Regions from separate parts of the Homo sapiens genome. Here region 2 is linked to region 1. Evidence: promoter capture Hi-C in 16 types of primary human blood cells and fetal thymus (Javierre and others, 2016). All regions are on one chromosome and are shown on one strand. Each heading gives the region's core, a stretch centred on a gene start or on the middle of the fragment in contact. The rest is flanking DNA. Distances are from core to core; before and after follow the strand shown.

The links. The method cuts DNA at HindIII sites, captures the fragments that hold promoters and counts their contacts. A CHiCAGO score of 5 or more calls a contact.
Region 2: a fragment that was not itself captured here is called in contact with the fragment with the promoter of CDC23 in region 1 in 2 of 17 cell types (M2 macrophages and M1 macrophages); the score reaches 5.6 in M2 macrophages.

Annotation. Positions count from the first base shown.
Region 1 is chr5:138,211,586-138,214,757 of GRCh38, forward strand. CDC23 (cell division cycle 23) reads right to left here and starts at 1,738. Exons shown (of 16, transcript NM_004661.4): 1 at 1,567-1,738; 2 at 1,406-1,478. The coding sequence starts at 1,727. RefSeq lists an enhancer at 1,755-2,049. The HindIII fragment of the contact is 10,377 bases long and covers 1-3,172 here.
Region 2 is chr5:138,422,027-138,425,198 of GRCh38, forward strand. It overlaps KDM3B (lysine demethylase 3B), which reads left to right. Exons shown (of 24, transcript NM_016604.4): 16 at 2,049-2,315. Among named protein-coding and RNA genes, the nearest start is that of REEP2, 15 kb to the right of the region's middle. The HindIII fragment of the contact is 621 bases long and covers 1,399-2,019 here.

The sequences.
Region 1 (3,172 bases), core at 488-2,987:
CCGGGAGGCAGAGGTTGCAGTGAGCCATCATGCCATTGCACTCCAGCCTGGGCAACAAGAGCAAGACTCCGTCTCAAAAAAAAAAAAAAGTAAAATAAAATAAAACTGTCTATCAGGTATTATGTTCACTATTTGGATGATGGGTTCAACTGAAGCCCAACCTCAGAATCACACAATATATCCATGTAGCAAATCTGCACAAGTAACCCCTGAATCTAAAATTTAAACAACAAAAACAATTATTTATCCTATTCAGGACCAACGATGGGCCTAGGCATTATGAAAGTGGGCACAAGAGTAAAAGCTAATGAGACAAATATAAACTGCATTGACTCAAAAAATTTACCTAAGAGTATACCGTATGCTTTACCCTTATTGCTTTATTTAATCTTCTTGAAAATGCAGCAATTATTAACATTATCTATAGATGAGAAGGCTGTCACTTAGAAATCATTTGCCCACATTGGTGCTGCTAATAAAGAACTTGACCGAAATATAGATGCAAGCACCAGGCACACTTCTAAGCGGTCTATATTATTATCTCATTGACTTCTCTCAATATCCCCATTGAGTAGATACTATTACTATCGTCACTGCACAGATGAGGAAACTGGCTCAGAAGGTTAAGTTGCCAAAGGTCATTTGAACCCAGAGTCGTCTCAATCCAGCACCCAAACTTAACCATTATTTGCTATGCTGATCAGACAACAGTGTAGGTATTGTAAAAACTTTATTTATTTATTATTTATTTTGAGACAGTGTCCCGCTCTGCCCTCGGGCTGGAGTGCAATGGCGCGATCTCAGCTCACTGCAACCTTCGCCTCCCGGGTTTAAGCGATTCTCCTGTCTCAGCCTCCCGAGTAACTGGGATTACAGGCGCGCGCCACCATGTCCGGCTAATTTTGTATTTTTACTAGAGACGGGGTTTCACCGTGTTGGCCAAGCTGGTCTCGAACTCCTAACCTCGTGATCCGCCCACCTCGGCCTCCTAAAGTGTTGGGATTACAGGCGTGAGCCACCGCGCCAGACCAAAACTTTTGATTCTTCTCATCCTTTTGGGTATTTATTATGAGATATCCTTATAATAATTCCTTATAATAATATTTACTATTATGAGGCACTCTTATGTCTAGGTTTGGCTATAAGCCCTAAAAGGCTGAAATCATAAGCAGTAATTGTTTACTAATTCTCCCCAGCTTTAAATAAGAGCACCACCAAGTCTTTCAAAGCTCAAGAAAACTAAATGGATAAAATCATTTAAAACACTCAGCTCTTTGAATGCCTGAATTCCCTCTACAAACATTTCTGCTAAGCAGTTTGCTCTCCTCCAGTGACAGGGCACTCAGTGGCTCTTGAGGCACACCCCTGGGTTGATGGGGAGCGCTCACTGTAAACATGTCCTTACCTCTGTAATAGGCGGAGGCGGTTGCAGCTCGGCCAGAGGCAATGCAGGGAGAGAGAAAGCCAACTCCGCCGACCTGGAACACCCACACAAACTAGATCAGCTCGACAAGCCCCCCAAGGCCAAGGATCCAAGCCCCGTCCCTTCCCACTCCAACATCTCACCATTTGCTACTGTGTAGTAGGCCCCGCTCCCGGGTAAGGCCCGCAATAAGCAGCAGTTGCTTTTTAATTTCCCGCAAATCTGAGAAATCGCTGTTTATGGACAGGACAGGCGCCACTGCCGCCGTCACAGCCACCGGGACCATGGAGGTACTCGCAGCCATTTTCCCGACTCGGGCCACTCCAGCCAATCATCGGCGATAATACTGGCTGCCCATCTGCACCAAAAATATCTGCCTGTCATTGGCCGGCTCTTGCTCCGGAAAAACCAATCATAGGTCTTATTTCTGAAACGTCACGAAGAGGCGGGGGAAAAGAAACAACTACATCCCCAAATGGCCAAGAGCTACTGAGGCGGGAAAATTAGAAAATAGGCGGGGCGAGGGAGAAGCCACGACCTCTGGGCGGGGCGGGGAAGAGGGGAATGAGTGACTGGGAAAAGTAAACTGGGAAGCTAGGGGTGGGAGTAGGGGCAAGAAAGGGTGGAGAAGGGAGAGTGCCTTTCACGGGTGATGTGATTGGATGAAAAATAGAAAGGGTGTAGTTTCAGGGCCGACTCTGTACCAGATAATGACAAAGTGATGTATATGCTAGGAAAGATGCATGGTAGCCTCTGGATTCTTCCTTAAAATAGGAGGATGTATCGCCCCATGTGGAGGATTTTTCCTCTTTGTCTACCCTTTCTTACCCCGGGTAGCCCGGGGAGGTGGGGGTGAGAGCATTGTTCTGTAACATTTATTTAACAATAATTGTTAACATTTCACATTTATTGAGGGTTTATCCTACAACAGGTTCTGCTCTTTTACAACTATAATCTGGTTTAATCCTAAAAACAGCACTATGATATTCGTATCATCCCAATTTTATAGAAAGAAAAACGGAAGCTCGGCCAGGCGCGGTGGCTCAAGCCTGTAATCCAACACTGTGGGAGGCCGAGGCGGGCGGATCACGAGGTCAGGAGATCGAGACCATCCTGGCCAACACGGTGAAACCCCGTCTCTACTAAAAATACATAAAAATTAGCCGGGCGTGGTGGCACGTGTCTGTAGTCCCAGCTACTCGGCAGGCTGAGGCAGGAGAATCGCTTGAACCTGGGAGGCGGAGGTTGCAATGAGCCGAGATCGTGCCATTGCACTCCAGCCTGGGCGACAGAGCGAGACTCCGTCAAAAAAAAAAAAAAAAAAAAACAAAACCAGAAAAGAAAAAAAAGAAAAAACGGAAGCTCAGAGAAGTTCTATCACTCTTCCAAGGAGAGAGTCTAGACTATAAACCAGATTTTACTCCAAAGCCCAATGTTCTTAAACATTACATGAACATTTTCGGCGTTTTTTGGTTTTTATCCTTTCATAGTAGTATACTATCTTACCAACCCCTCGGGAATTTTTTTTGAAACCATTTTGTCATTCACTGGGTGTTATATAGAAGTTATCTATTTTTAAATTGTTATTTTATTATTTTATTTATTTTAAGAAAGGGTCTCGGCCGGGCGCGGTGGCTCACGCCGGTAATCCCAGCACTTTGCGAGGCGAAGGCGGGCGGATCACGAGGTCAGGAGATCAAGACCATCTTGGCTAACACGGTGAAACCCCTGTCTCTACTAAAAATACAA
Region 2 (3,172 bases), core at 459-2,958, 210 kb after region 1:
TCTTTCCCATGTAACTACCTCACTTGCTTCATCATCAGCTCCCTCACCTAAACCTTCAGTAACCCTTTCTTCATACATCACCCTTTTTAAAATTCCATCACACTGTCAGTTCTGCACATACCGATTTTCCCTGCTTTGTTTTTTTCACAGCACTCATTACCATCTGACCTATTACATGTTTGATTTTCTGTTTCTTGCCTCTCCTAAAGGCATTTTTGACTGTTCTATAATATATCCCTAGTGCCATGGTGTTTGATCCAGTCATGTTTAGTAAGCATTTATTGAATGAATGAATTCATAAGGTACAATATCTAAAAGATAGAAAAGAGGCTGGGCACAGTGGCTCACACCTGTAATCCCAGCACTTTGGGAGGCTGAGGCGGACAGATCACTTGAGGTCAGGAGTTCGAGACTAACCTGACCAACGTAGCAAAATCCTGACTCTTTCTAAAAAACTACAAAAATTAGCCAGGCATGATGGCACATGCTTATAATCCCAGCTACTCGGGAGGTTGAGGCAGGAGAATCGCCTGAACCTGGGAGGCAGAAGTTGCAGTGAGCCAAGATCGCACCACCGCACTCCAGCCTGGGTGACAGAGGGAGATCCATCTCAAAAAAATAAATAAAATAAAAAAGGTTTCGACTGAAAAGTTTCCTTTGCACCCTTGCCTCCCAACCACCTGTTTCCCTTTCTAGAAGTCTCCAGTGTTTCTCGAGATATTATCATATGTATGTTTTTCCCCTAAATGTTCTACACCTTGCTATTCTGATTTTTAGTTTATATGTCCTGCAAATCATTTCAAGCGAATACATAAATACATTTCTTCTTGGGTTTTATGACTAATGGCTGAAACGTGATGAACTGTGGGTGACTGAGCCCTCTATACAATTTGGGTTATTTGTTTCTCTTTTGGATAAGTAACTTTTTTTTTTGAGACAGTCTCACTCTGTTGCCCAAGCTGGAGTGCAGTGGCACGATCTCAGCTCACTGCAGCCTCCACTTCCCAGGTTCAAGCAAATCTCCTGCCTTAGCCTCCCGAGCAAGTAGCTGGGACTACAGGCACGTGCCACCACACTGGGATAATTTTTGTATTTTTAGTAGAGACAGGGTTGGCCACCATGTTGGCCAGGCTGGTCTCGAACTCCTGACCTCAGGTAATCCACCTGCCTTGGCCTCCCAAAGTGCTGGGATTAACAGGCATGAGCCACCGTGCCCAGCCTGGATAAGTAAATTTTAAAAAGCAAACAAAACAATTACTTTGGGTACCGTTTTATGTATACTTGTTCATCATACTGCCAGTTCTTTTTCTAATTCTCCCATGATGTTACATAATTATACATACTTTATAGAGATAGGGATTAGTAATACTGTAAGCATAGGATTATCCAGTTTATAAAAGCTTCCCTACCTTCAGTTCTGTGACCTTAGGTATGTCACTTTCATCTCTGGGCCTGAGCTTTCCCATCAGCTGAAACAGGTGAGTGATTCTCAGTGGGATGGTAGTGAGGAAAAAATTGGAGAGTAGGAGACTGCTTTCAGAATGTACTTCCTCTTGGACACTCTGCTACACCCTTCATTGAGGTACTCCCTGGTAGAAAACCATTGCCTTGATAAGTCACTTCAGTTACTTAATTGAAGTATTGTATCCCTTGGGCATGCTGGTTAGGAAAAATTTAGAACCCTCAAACTGAGTGACCTTTTTACACTCAGTTACAGCATTTGATGATCCCTACAGTCTACATGCATGTGTGCTTTGTATACTGAATGGCTGATGCCAAAGGTATTTCTTAGGTCTCAGATCTCTCGAGGCAAAAGGGATCTTTCTATACTTTTCTTTCCTAAATGTTAAGGTAAAATATGAAGGATAAAAGAATTTAAGATGTTGACTTATTATCCCCCTTCCAGTTGTAAAAGACATTTTAATAATTTTTGTAGAATTTAATCAGACAGGTCAGAACTCCTTGTGAATACAATTGTGAGACAGTTTTTTGAATGCCGTTCTCATGGTGCCTCAGTCAAGCTTACCTGGTGGATTTGTGTCTGGCAGGGAGTGAAGAGCAAGGCCAGCCTACCCAACTTTCTTGACCACATCATTGCCTCAGTGGTAGAAAATAAGAAAACCTCAGATGCTTCAAAGCGGGCCTGCAACTTGACTGATACCCAGAAGGAAGTGAAGGAGATGGTGATGGGGTTAAATGTGCTAGATCCCCATACTTCTCACTCCTGGCTTTGTGATGGGAGGCTTCTGTGTCTCCATGACCCCAGCAACAAAAACAATTGGAAGATCTTCCGGGAGTGTTGGAAGCAAGGTCAGGTAAGCAAGAATAAGTCGTTCCAAGGGCCAATTCTCTGCCTGCCTACCACAGATACCTGGACAATTCCAGGTCTCTCTTTTTGCCAGGGAGATTTAGACATAGTGAGGTTATTGTAATAGCCTTGCTACTTCGAGTTGTCTTGGATTTTTAAAAGCAAGGAGATGGCCAGGCACTATAGCTCACGCCTGTAATCTCAGCACTTTGGGAGGCCAAGGCAGGCGCATCATCTGAGGTCAGGAGTTTGGCCAACATGGTGAAATCCTGTCTCTACTAAAAATACAAAAAAAATTAGCTGGGCATGGTGGTGGGTGCCTGTAATCCCAGCTGCTTGAGAGGGTGAGGCAGGAGAATCACTTTACCCGGGAAGCAGAGGGTGCGGTGAGCCAAGATCATACCACTACATTCCAGCCTGGGCTACAGAGCAAGATTCCACCTCAAAAATAAATAAATAATAAATAAATAAAAGCAAGGAGATTACTAAAAACACACTTTGCATCCTCTTGTTTCTAAGCTGTATAGTTCTGTGTTCTTAAAAAGGCAGTTGAAATTTCTGTTAGGTGGTGATCTGGCATTGATATCTTTAGAGAAAAATCCTTAAGTGTGATTTTAAGATGGGGCAGAGAAGGGGTTGGAGGTAGGTAGTACTTTTCTAGGCAAATGTTTTAAGGCCACACAAGTTTTTTGATAGTGTGATAACACTCCCTAGTTTAAAAACTTTAGCAGGTGCTTGAGGAAGGGGAGCTCATGGCATTGTCATTTTCAATATGAGGAAGTGTTCTCAAAGTTGGACTTGTCAGATTTTTGTCCTTTCACCTTAAAACAATGGTAGGTATTAGGGCAACAGAAGTGATTTCCC